4 separate regions of the Homo sapiens genome follow, and all the other regions are linked to region 1. Evidence: promoter capture Hi-C in 16 types of primary human blood cells and fetal thymus (Javierre and others, 2016). All regions are on one chromosome and are shown on one strand. Each heading gives the region's core, a stretch centred on a gene start or on the middle of the fragment in contact. The rest is flanking DNA. Distances are from core to core; before and after follow the strand shown.

What was found. The method cuts DNA at HindIII sites, captures the fragments that hold promoters and counts their contacts. A CHiCAGO score of 5 or more calls a contact.
Region 2: a contact is called between a fragment that was not itself captured here and the fragment with the promoter of WRNIP1 in region 1, in 6 of 17 cell types (megakaryocytes, erythroblasts, total B cells and 3 more). The highest score is 13.2, in megakaryocytes.
Region 3: a contact is called between a fragment that was not itself captured here and the fragment with the promoter of WRNIP1 in region 1, in 2 of 17 cell types (neutrophils and megakaryocytes). The highest score is 7.4, in neutrophils.
Region 4: a contact is called between a fragment that was not itself captured here and the fragment with the promoter of WRNIP1 in region 1, in 1 of 17 cell types (megakaryocytes). The highest score is 6.6, in megakaryocytes.

The regions. Positions count from the first base shown.
Region 1 is chr6:2,763,952-2,766,694 of GRCh38, forward strand. It overlaps WRNIP1 (WRN helicase interacting protein 1), which reads left to right and starts at 1,442. Exons shown (of 7, transcript NM_020135.3): 1 at 1,442-2,493. The coding sequence starts at 1,672. It also overlaps a transcript of MYLK4 not described here. RefSeq lists enhancers at 7-886, 984-1,278 and silencers at 733-822, 1,203-1,252, 1,413-1,872, 2,043-2,362. The HindIII fragment of the contact is 13,290 bases long and covers 1-2,743 here.
Region 2 is chr6:2,989,257-2,992,116 of GRCh38, forward strand. It overlaps LINC01011 (long intergenic non-protein coding RNA 1011), which reads left to right. Exons shown (of 3, transcript NR_026856.1): 2 at 272-477; 3 at 613-1,915. It overlaps NQO2-AS1 (NQO2 antisense RNA 1), which reads right to left. Exons shown (of 2, transcript NR_186367.1): 2 at 80-755. Among named protein-coding and RNA genes, the nearest start is that of LINC01011, 2.7 kb to the left of the region's middle. RefSeq lists enhancers at 1-272, 273-1,082, 646-805, 1,083-1,890 and a silencer at 1-75. The HindIII fragment of the contact is 233 bases long and covers 1,145-1,377 here.
Region 3 is chr6:2,930,837-2,933,716 of GRCh38, forward strand. No RefSeq gene overlaps it. Among named protein-coding and RNA genes, the nearest start is that of SERPINB9, 29 kb to the left of the region's middle. The HindIII fragment of the contact is 3,626 bases long and covers 1-2,880 here.
Region 4 is chr6:2,948,692-2,951,640 of GRCh38, forward strand. SERPINB6 (serpin family B member 6) reads right to left here. Exons shown (of 7, transcript NM_004568.6): 6 at 223-378; 7 at 1-8. Among named protein-coding and RNA genes, the nearest start is that of SERPINB6, 21 kb to the right of the region's middle. The HindIII fragment of the contact is 228 bases long and covers 1,242-1,469 here.

The DNA of each region.
Region 1 (2,743 bases), core at 192-2,691:
AAACCCCGTCTGTACTAAAAATCCAAAAAAATTACCTGGGTGTGGTGGCGGACGCCCGTAATTCCAGCTACTCGAGAGGCTGAGACAGCAGAATCACTGGAACCCGGGAGGCGGAGGTTGCCGTGAGCTGAGATTGCGCCATTGCACTCCAGCCTGGACAAGAGTGAAACTGCGTCTCAAAAAAATAATGAAAGCTCACGATCCTCTTTTGGTAGTTTCACGTTACATGATGATTAAAGTTTAACTTGTTTCTCTAGCGTTTCTATTAATCTTATTTTTGAGCCTAACTTTTTTAGTTAGAAACAACTCTTAACCAGCCAGCCAGGCGTGGTGGCTCAGCCTGTAACCCCAGGACGACTCCAAAGGCTAAGGCGGAAGGGTCCCGGGCGCCCAGGAGTTCAAGGCTGTGAGCTCTGGTCGCGGCCCTGCACTCCAGCCTGGGCGACAGAACGAGTGAGACCCTCAATGTGCTCTTGCCCAGATGAAATAAAAATTCAAGTTTTGGCCAAATTTCGGAAAAGTCTTCATTCTCCCTCAATTCATTTACCTCTTCTAGTTACCAAAAATGCCTGTTTTGAGATACATGTTTTAAAACGGGAGACTTAGACAAAAGCAAAAAATAACATGGTAATTCATTCAAAGATGCAGACTACCACACTTGTTTTAATCTGATATTCTTTCCATTTCTATCCGTCTAGGACGTAATTGCACACGGGCGCCTCCCATCATTTGGTTGCTAAGGAGACAGAAGGCTGGTGTTTCCGATTTGCCACTATTACACAGCGGCCCGCGAGAAGCATCTCTTGGCTCGAAGCGCGCTGTAGGTGAACCGCCCTTGACTTAAACGCCAACACATCTAAAAGGGGGCGAGGGACGCTTTATTTTCATTTCCCTGACCACTACTGAGGTGAGCATTTCTTTCACTCGCGTACTTGTTTGTATTTTTTCTGCTGTTCACGTCCAATAGAACACTGGTTTTCTATTGGAGGCTTTTGGGTTTTTTCCCCCATTTCCCTTTCGTTACAAACGACCCGCTGCGGCCGCCTCCTGCTTGTCCCCACAGGCCCATTCAACAGCCCAGCACGGAAGGCCGGGAAAGCGGCGCTCGCCGCTCCAACAACCTCGCGCAGTCCGTGGCTCCTCCCTGCCCTCGCGCGACTCGCAGGCCTGGGCGGAGGGCTGCGTCCGCCACCGCGCAACCTCGCGCACGCGCACCACGCTCGCCTCGCAACCCCCCCCCCCGCCCCTCCCCCGCCCCCGCAAAGGCTGTTCTCAGAGTCGGAAATGGACGCACGGCAGCTGGGGCGAATGGCCGCGGACTACACTTCCCGAAGTGCCGCGCGAGGTATTCTCGGCGGTGATTGGGGCAAACGGCCACGGACTACACTTACTTACATGCCGCGCGAGGCGCCTCCGCCGCCGGGGCAAACGGCCACGAACTACACTTCCCGACACGCCGCGTGAGGCGCTGCCAGCGGCCGGCCGAGGGCGGGCGGACGCGGGAGCTGCGGACGTGAGGCATGAGCGGCGCCCTCCTCCGGCCCGCGAGCGTCCTGCTGGTTCCCCGAGCGAGGGTCTCGCGGCGCGGGGCCTAGCGGAGGGCATCGAAGGCCTCCGCGTGCGCACGGGTTGCTGCGGCCGCGCCGGGCGCCGGGGAGGGCGGCGGCCGCCATGGAGGTGAGCGGGCCGGAAGACGACCCCTTCCTTTCGCAGCTGCACCAGGTGCAGTGCCCCGTGTGCCAGCAGATGATGCCCGCCGCGCACATCAACTCGCACCTGGACCGCTGTCTGCTGCTCCACCCGGCGGGGCACGCGGAGCCCGCGGCCGGGTCGCACCGCGCCGGGGAGCGGGCCAAGGGGCCCTCGCCGCCCGGCGCCAAGAGGCGGCGGCTGTCGGAGAGCTCGGCGCTGAAGCAGCCAGCCACCCCGACGGCAGCCGAGAGCAGCGAGGGCGAGGGTGAGGAGGGCGACGACGGCGGCGAGACCGAGAGCCGCGAGAGCTACGACGCGCCGCCCACACCCAGCGGCGCCCGCCTTATCCCCGACTTCCCGGTGGCCCGCTCCAGCAGCCCCGGGAGGAAGGGGTCGGGGAAGAGGCCGGCGGCCGCCGCCGCGGCGGGGAGCGCGTCTCCGCGCAGCTGGGACGAGGCGGAGGCGCAGGAGGAGGAGGAGGCCGTGGGCGACGGCGATGGCGACGGGGACGCGGACGCGGACGGCGAGGACGACCCGGGGCACTGGGACGCGGACGCTGCCGAAGCCGCCACCGCCTTCGGGGCCAGTGGCGGGGGCCGCCCGCACCCCCGGGCGCTGGCTGCCGAGGAGATCCGACAGATGCTACAGGGCAAGCCGCTGGCCGACACGATGCGTCCTGACACGCTGCAGGATTACTTCGGGCAGAGCAAGGCCGTGGGCCAGGATACCCTGCTGCGCTCGCTCCTGGAGACCAACGAAATCCCCTCGCTTATCCTGTGGGGGCCGCCGGGCTGCGGCAAGGTGAGTGCGGCCTTGGCCGTTGGGCTTCCGTAGTTATCTCGGCGGTGGATGCAGCTGATGGTCGGAGAGCCGGGTGTGCTGCCCTCGAAAGAAGCCGCCTGCCTCTCCTGGATAAGGGGGTGCAGACTTGGGCTGGGCTGGGGCAGTGCCTGGTCCACAGGTGGAGTCTGTGATGGGTGTGAAAAGGGCACACACCCCCAGATTGGTAAGGCAGGCTTGCCGGGTTTGCAAAAGGACGATGTCTGTGAAT
Region 2 (2,860 bases), core at 11-2,510, 230 kb after region 1:
GGGGCCTTGGGGGATGAGGCTGGGGCCCGCGGGAAACCGGGCTGGGGCGAGGAGGCTCGCAGGACTTCCTGCCACAGAATGTTTCGATGCTTTTTTTAATTCTGCAAATGTAAGCCTTTCCACTTTAAGTCCAAGCTCAGCGCAGAGGACTGTTCTATAATACATACAATTTAGTTTAAAAATGTTGCAAATGTTAACATGTGTCACAAACTCAAGCAATCCAGTATTATAGAAAGCAAAGAATGAAATGTGCTGCTTCTTTCTCCCCCAGACGCCCTTGCATACATTAAGATATGTATATATGGAAATGTTACCGGGAGTCCCGGTTATCCCAAAAAGGGTTGTTTCCTGTTGCGTGGTGAGGCCAATGCACGAAACCGAAAGGGAGTGTGTCAAGCAGTGCAGGCTGTATTCAATGGCTATGGAATTGGAAGATCTGAAATCAACTTAGCTTGTGAGAGCTGGGAAGTTTCAGAGGTAGGGTGTCTTTAATGAAGGGGCTGGGCATTAAGAGCACGGGGGGGAATATTCGTGCTTTCCTTGGGAAAGAACGGAGATTTTTCCCGGAATCAAGAAACCCCTTTTTTTCTGTCCCTTCTTGGTCTCTTCCAGTCGTTGTCATGGCGACATGTTGTTTAGCATGAGAACAGGATGATGATAAAGCCAGAGGCTCTTCAGAGGCGCCATCTTGGATTTCGCCAGCTTCAGCTGGTTTCGTCCTAAGAAGGAACTTCGAAACACAGGCATTCTTTTTCCTGAAAATAAGCAGAGTTACAGCTGAGTAGGAATTTAGCTCTGTCCCATATGCTATCGCATTGGGCAGCAAAAGCAGGGTGGGGTCCAGCGAAATCAGCAGGCACTGCAATGAGTAACATACCCAGCCACGTTTATGCAGCATTTTTACGAAAATGAAACCATACTACCTGTAAAGGAAGATATGCTAACAAACAACAAAACTGGCAGGAACCAAGATTCCTACTGACACTACCCTTAGTTTTAATTTTCCCTGACAACAAATGAGGTTAACAGAGCATAATTATCTACCGTGACCCCTTCAAAAAGACAGGCTGTATACATTTGCACTAAGAGAAGAAATCGTGTAATGTCAGCAAATTTCCCCCACTTAAAGCTTCTCTATTTAAAAAGCTTCACGCACACATGCACGCATATGTCTTCAAGATGACCACAATTTATTTTGCAGTCATTCTTTGCACCAGTTCCCAATTTTTCCCACTAGCTTGCAAGCTCCGTGACTCGAGGAGACCGGGGGATCAGAGTTTGTTTTTGCGGAGAAGTGAGTCCTTTATGCCCCAAATAGTGACTGACATAGAGAAGGTACTCAGTAAACACTTTTTAAAGGAATGCCTGCCTGACTGAAGCTTAATGATGTGAGGCTTCTAGTGGGATACCCTACCTTGTTTTAACCTGAAGTGACTCTTCCTTAGCTAAGAGAGCCAGACGGACTCCATCGTGACTCCTTCACTCGCAGCCCCTTACCCACCCCCTTCCTCAAGGACTTAACTTGTGCAAGCTGACTCCCAGCACATCAAGAATGCAATTAACTGATAAGATACTGTGGCAAGCTATATCCGCAGTTCCCAGGAATTCGCCCGGTTAATAGCACCCAGAGCCCCTGCGTTTGTGTCCGGTTGATAACGCCCAAAGCCCGGCGTCCATCACCTTAGGATAGACTTAAAGCCTCTGCACCTGGAACTGTTTACTTTCCTGTAACCGTTTATCCTTTTAACTTTTTGCCTACTTTACTTCTGTAAGATTGTTTCAACTAGACTCCCCCTCTCCCCTGTCTAAACCAAAGTATAAAAGAAAATCTAGCTCCTTCTTCGGGGCCAAGAGAATTTCGAGCGCTAGCTGTCTCTCGGCTGCCGGCTAATAAAGGACTCCTGAATTCGTCTCAGAGTGTGGCGTTTCTCTGTAACTCGCTCGGTTACAACACTAGGTTAATCTTTTTCCTTTAACTGTTTGTTTAAAATATATTATGTTTAAGACCTTCTAACTGGTCAGCCTCCAAGATAGTATTGTGCTGGGCTTGCTTTATTCTGGTTTGGTTTCCATGATCCCAGTTCATGTGTTACCTGCTTCTCTTTTGAATTCACAATGATACACAACTTTTAATTTGTTAGAACACAAACATAAGGAATTTTTTTTTCCATTTTAATGTGAGATATGACAGAGGCAAATTGTTTCTTAAAGACATAAAATAATTAAAATAATTACATAAATTGTAATAAAATAATTATTACAATGTTCTATCTTTGGCATTAAGGCATAGAACAATTTTTTAATCCTAAACTAGGCTGGGCATGGTGGCTCACTCCTGTAATCCCAGCACTTTGGGAGGCTGAGGCTGGTGGATCACTTGAGGCCAGGAGTTGGAGACCAGCCTGGCCAACATGATGAAACCCTGTCTCTACTAAAAATACAATAAAAAATTTAGCCGGGTGTGATGGCGCTCACCTGTAGTCCCAGCTACTCAGGAAGCTGAGGCACCAGAATCGCTTGAACCCGGGACGCGGAGGTTGCAGTGAGCTGAGATATAGCGCCGCTGCTCTCCAGCCTGGGCAACAGAATGAGACCCTGTCTCAAAGTAAATTAAATAAATAAAATCCTAAACTGTAGGACCAAGATTTGATTCAGAAAAGAGACTTTCTTGTACTAATTTATACACTGTTCATGTCAGATCCAATCTTTCTTTTTATTAGATGAATCTGGAAAAGCAACTTAGAATAATTCAATCAGTCTAAAAGAATAACAGCTGATGAGATGCAGTCAATAAGCAGTTTTGTATTAGTATTTTTATAAGAAATTAGAAAAACATGATTTTGGGGGAGATCTTCTCATA
Region 3 (2,880 bases), core at 192-2,691, 170 kb after region 1:
CCCCTCAGACTCCCAAAGTGCTGGGATTACAGGCCTGAGCCACCATGCCCAGCCCTTGGAAGAGTTTTTTAAAGGTTATAAAATTACATTTCCAAGTGTTAAAAATAAGTATATGAGTTTTAACATCATTTTGTAGCAATAACATCATTTAACAAGGGAAAGAAAAACTTTCAAATAGATGTTTTAAAATGATCATTCCACCCTCTTTCAATAAGATGCATCTTTACCTACAAAGGCAATCCATTACAGTTTTTCAAAAATATTTGCTAGGTATTCCACTAATCGCCACTTTTCACAGAACAGGTCATTACATTTGGAATTCTTGCTATTCCAAAAGAAAAAAAAATGTAAATATCAAATTAACCAACCCTCTTTTCAAAGATCATTAGCAAATGAAAGCAGGCCACTGAAGAGAAATGTTGGAGAATGCTTGCTGACCCAGGAATGTGTGGAACCCGGTGGACCTCAATTCGAAAAGCGTCATATTAATTAGTTTGTCGGATTTTTCTGTTTGAAGGAGCTTGTGAGAGAAACATGTGTTTCGGACATGATCCCACCTGGAAGCTGCCATTAGCGTCTCCTTAGTGCCTTGTCGAATGAGAAACCCTATTAATTCCAGGGGTATTACCTGGAAGTATTAAATGACAAGGAGTTGGGTGGCAGTTAGGGAGGCCTGTTTGTCTTCTAAATGTATCCATTCCTTGTTGGGGTGCTCTGACTGCATGCAATGCAGACAGGAAAATTAAATAGGAAATATTAATCCTCATCTCCTCTTGGAATATGGCATGTCAGCAGGATGACCATACAGCATGGCTTGTCTGGGACAGTCCCAGTTATACCTGTTGCCTTGGTGTCCTGCCTGGGTCAGCATTTGTCACAGGCTTTTCATTTTCAATGAAGTGTTGTTAGTAACAGCTACAGGAGGGGGGTTGGCAGGTCTTTACTTTGTACTGTGAGCTCCCACTACACTTACACCTGTCAGGGTCCACTCAGGAGACAAAGCCACATCAGCTATGTGAACAGAGGAGAATATAAAGGATTGTTAGGAAAAGGGGCACAGACGCAGCATGTGAAAAAGGGGCAGCTGTTACCCACAGGCCCAGTGAGAATGGATGAGGAAAGACTAAAGTGTTAGGAGACCTTTACCGCACCCCCACCCCACACACACTTCGGGCTGAAACTCAGATCTTTTTGAAGAGGATGCAGCTGTCACAGAAACATGCAGCTGCTGCTGGCAGAGTGCATGGGTCAGAGTGGGCCACCAGGAGCTGTCTGCCATTGCCAGAGGGTGTGGCAGGCCAGAGCCGTCCGCAGAAGCAAAAGGCCAGGTAGGGACACAGCTGCCTGAGGTTGCAGCTGTTGCGACTGCAGAAATGGCTGTTGCATGGAGAAAACATGAGAATGAGGCTAGAGATGGTCTGTGTGGGCTGCTGGACCCTGCACTGAGTGGTTACAGGAGAACCAGAACTGGGAACGACAGGTGTCTTTCTACCGGGCTTTCCTGGCAGTGTCTCACTGGCACCCTCTAGTGACGAAGCGTAGCATTGTGCCATCTAGGGAAGTGACAGCAACTCCAGGGTTACATGAGAGGAGGCTCTAGAGCCAAGAGACAATCAATTGCTAAGTGACTCAGCAGGTGCAGGATGCTCACTTTAATCTTGGTTAAATCTGACAGGCAACTTGTGAGTCTGATCCTTTCCAGAAGTCTCCCCCTTCAAGGACAGGACATAAGGAACTCACTCACTGATAAAACAACTTAATCCTTGTTCACAAGCAGCTAGGGACAGCTACGTCCTTCTGGACTCTAGTACTGTGGAGATAATTATTTGGGACTGCTTTCCCCTGACAGCCACTGGGTTGTAATGTGGCTCGTGCTGTGGCTTTTGAGAAGCCATCATTTGGCAGTCAGTTGGAAACGTGGAAAAGTATAGTTTAGGTACACAGTTTAAACTATAATTTAGGCATATTTAAATAGAGGCTATATAAAAATAGAGGCATATTTAAATAGAGGAAATAGAGGCTATAAATTATTATAGATATAAGCCCAAACTCTCTTGCTACAGTGGTTTTGTTATTCATTATATAGGAAAATCTACAGCCATTTATTTTATTGTTTGACTATACTTTTTTACTTAATTTTATTATTTTGAGACAGAGTCTCACTGTGTCACTCAGGCTGGAATGCAGTCGCACCATCTCGGCTCACCACAACCTCCGCCTCTCAGGTTCAAGCGATTCTCCTGCCTCAGCTTCCTGAGCACTGGGATTACAGGCGCCCGCCAGCGTAACTGGCTAATTTTTTGTATTTTTAGTAGAGACACAGTTTCGCCATGTTGGCCAGGCTGGTCTCGAGCTCCTGACCTCAGGTGATCCACCTACCTCGGCCTCCCAAAGTGCTGGAATTACAGGCAAGAGCCACCGCACCCAGCCTGTTTGGCTATACTTTAATTTTGCAATAAATCCTTTTAGCAAACAGTGAGCTCAAAAATTAAGTACTGAATTTTCATATCACAAGAGGTGGAATGTTTAGTGTGCACAAAATGTTGCTGCTTACCACTCACCAGTGGCACCATAGTGCTATCTCTGACCATGTAAAAACTATAAGATGCTAATCTATAAGGAAATACTAGCACCTCCTTCAAAAGTTAGAACTTATTTTAAGAAAATTCTGGCCGGGCACGGTGGCTCACCCCTGTAATCCCAGCACCTTGGGAGGCCGAGGCAGGTGGATCACAAGGTCAGGGTTTGAGACCAGCGTGGCCAATATGGTGAAACTCTGTCTCTACTAAAAATACAAAAATTAGCCAGGTGTGGTGGCAGGTGCCTATAGTCTCAGCTACTCTGGAGGCTGAGGCAGGAGAATCGCCTGAACCTGGGAGG
Region 4 (2,949 bases), core at 106-2,605, 180 kb after region 1:
TTCTCCACCTAGAGGGAGACAGTTGAAGACTTTAAGACCCAGGGTGCTGCTGCCCAGCAGGGCCCTGTGCTATGCTGTGGATGCCAGACACCAGTGGCAGCGTGGCTATGGTCAGCAGCGCTCCAGTGTTAAACGGCTGACCGCAAAGTAGGGACAGCAGCCACAGCAGACACCCCCGAGTGGCTCCTTGCTAGCACGCCTCGCTCACAGCTTAGCTGTTACCGTTCTCAAGTCAGTGGTCTCGTCCGGAAGCATGATGATCATATTCAGTTCCTTGCCAACATATGGAAGCACCAAGATTTGGGTAAATATTTCTCCTATATAGGTCTTCTTAAAAGTAGATTGCTTAAACATCATTTGCACAGGTTTCTCCTCATTCTACAAAGAAAACAGATAAACATCAAGTTGAAACAAGACCCCACTGACACATGGGACAAATGTGTCGGAGCTGGCCACTCTCTGCAGGGAGAAACGCAGCTCGGTTTCTCCCCAGCTTCCAGAACACCCGGCAGCGCCTGCTCTGCCATCTTCATTACCTCAACCTCCAGAAACTGGGGTGCCCAGGGCCCAAACCCAACGTGTCTTTCCTCTCATTGATCGCATTCAGTCTCATGGCTTTAAACACAATATCACACCAAATTTACCTCCCGCCTGGGCCTCTGCCCTGTCCTTGGGCCTCCTGCATTTTACTGCCCACCTGCACCTATGTTTGGACATAAAAGAAACTCCCAGCGCCACCTGTAATGCGGCACTCCGTAGATCCTCCAAGTCGGCTCTGTCTACTGCAACTCTGCCCATCTCAGCTGAGGGCAGTGCCACTGTCCAGTGGTCAAAAGCCCTGGAGTGCCCCTGACTCCTGTCTTTCTCTCACACCCTGTGTCTGACTCACTGGCAAATTATATTGGCTCTACCTCGAGAATATAACAAAATCTGACCTGTTCCTTCTGCCTCTGCTGCTACCAGCCTAGCCCTGGAATATTGTGATAATATGATTGTGATTGTTCCCAGCACAGTGGCCAGAGGGGCCCGGTAGAACCTAAGGCAGATCACATTGTTCTTTGGCTGGACACCCTTCCCTGGCTCCCCATTTACTCGGAGCAGGAGCTGAAAGTCCCTAAAAAGCCTGGAATTGTGATAAGAGCTCGTCCCCAGTTCCCTCTCCCTTTGCTTATCTGCTACAGTCACAGAGGCCTCCTCACTGCACTGCCAGCAAACCCAGTTCATCTCATCTCTACGCAGTAAGCTTGTCCTCCAGAACCTGGAGAGTGAACTTCTGCCTCTTTACGGTCTTTGTTCAAAAACCACCTTGGCAGAGAAGCTGTCCTTGATAGATCTTACCTGACCCTACACTCCCACCCCAAACACAGATTCCTATCCCCTCCCTTGGTATGTCTCTGTACCATTTACCACTGTCTAATATGCTCCTATTTTCTTATTTATGCTTGCTGTCTCTCCCCCAAGAAAACATAAGCTTCACCAGGGCAAGCATGCTTTGCTTGTTTTGTGCATGGCTGAAAAATACCTAGCACCATGCCTGATACATAGAAGACACTCAGTCAGGTTAGGCATGGTGGCTCATGCCTGTAATCCCACCATTTTGGGAGGCTGAGGCAGACGGATCACCTGAGGTCAGGAAATCGAGACCAGCCTGGCCAACATGGTGAAACCCCACCTCTACTAAAAATAGAAAAATTAGCTGGGCATGGTGGTGCGCTCCTGTAATCCCAGCTACTCGGGAGGCTGAGGTAGGAGAATCACTTGAACCCGGGAGGCAGAGGTTGCAGTGACCCAAGATTGCACCGCTGCACTCCAGCCTGGGAGACAGACCGAGACTCCATCTCAAAAAAAAAAAAAAAAAGGCACTCAGTCAATCTCTGCTGAATAAATGATAAATGCATAAACGAATTAATGAGCTGGGATGCTAAAAAGGCCAGGCAACATTTACACATCTCACCAGAAAAAACTGCACTGGTCACCAACCCCAGCCAGCCAATGAGAAAGACTGGAGGCCAGGAACCACACCCCATCCAACAATCCCCCTCAGTTCCTGACTCGGAGCTGCTCCTGTGAGTTGAGTAAATACCCTGCAATAGGCACAGTCAAAGACGCCGTATGGTCCCCAGTCTCTGGTGTAGCACATTCTTCTGTGTTAAATGGAATAAATAAAATACACTGCGGCGGCAGCTTTCTGCTTTCACGTGGTAGAGGCTCGCCTGGGCTGGCCCTTAGCCTTTGGCTAGAGCAGTCTCCTGGGCCTCGGCTGCCCCACTCATTTCCTTGGCCAGCAGTAGGCATGTTTCTTCCATAACTGACCAGACAGGAACTATTTTCCGGTTTGTGGCTACATGTACCATCTCCGTCACAACGACTCAGCTGTTGTTACAGGATGAAATAAGTAAGTAAATAAGCATGGGCCAGGCGTGGTGGCTCACGCCTGTAATCCCAGCACTGTGGGAGGCCCGGGCAGGTGGATCACCTGAGGTCAGGAGTTCGAGACCAACCTGACCAACATGGTGAAACCCCGTCTCTACTAAAAATGCAAAAATTAGCCGGGCATAGTGGCACACACCTGTAATCCCAGCTACTCAAGAGGCCACGGCAGGAGAATCACCTGAACCCGGGAGGCGGAGGCTGCAGTGTTCCGAGATGGCACCACTGCACTCCAGCCTGGGCAACAAGAGAGAAACTCTGTCTTGGAAAAAATAAAAAATAAAAAAAAAAAATAAGCATGGCTGTGTTTCAGTAAACCTTTAAAAAAAATTAGGTGGTGGGCTGGCTTTGCTGTAGGCTGAAGTTTGCTGACCCCTGCCTTCAGTAATTCCTCCCTGCACCCCTTCAGGGTCCAAAGCCTCCAATCTTGCAATATAAAAAGATCTAACCTTAGTGACTGAATGATTCACTAAATACACAATTATATAGACAAGTTCCAGTTTATATAGAAGGTAATGA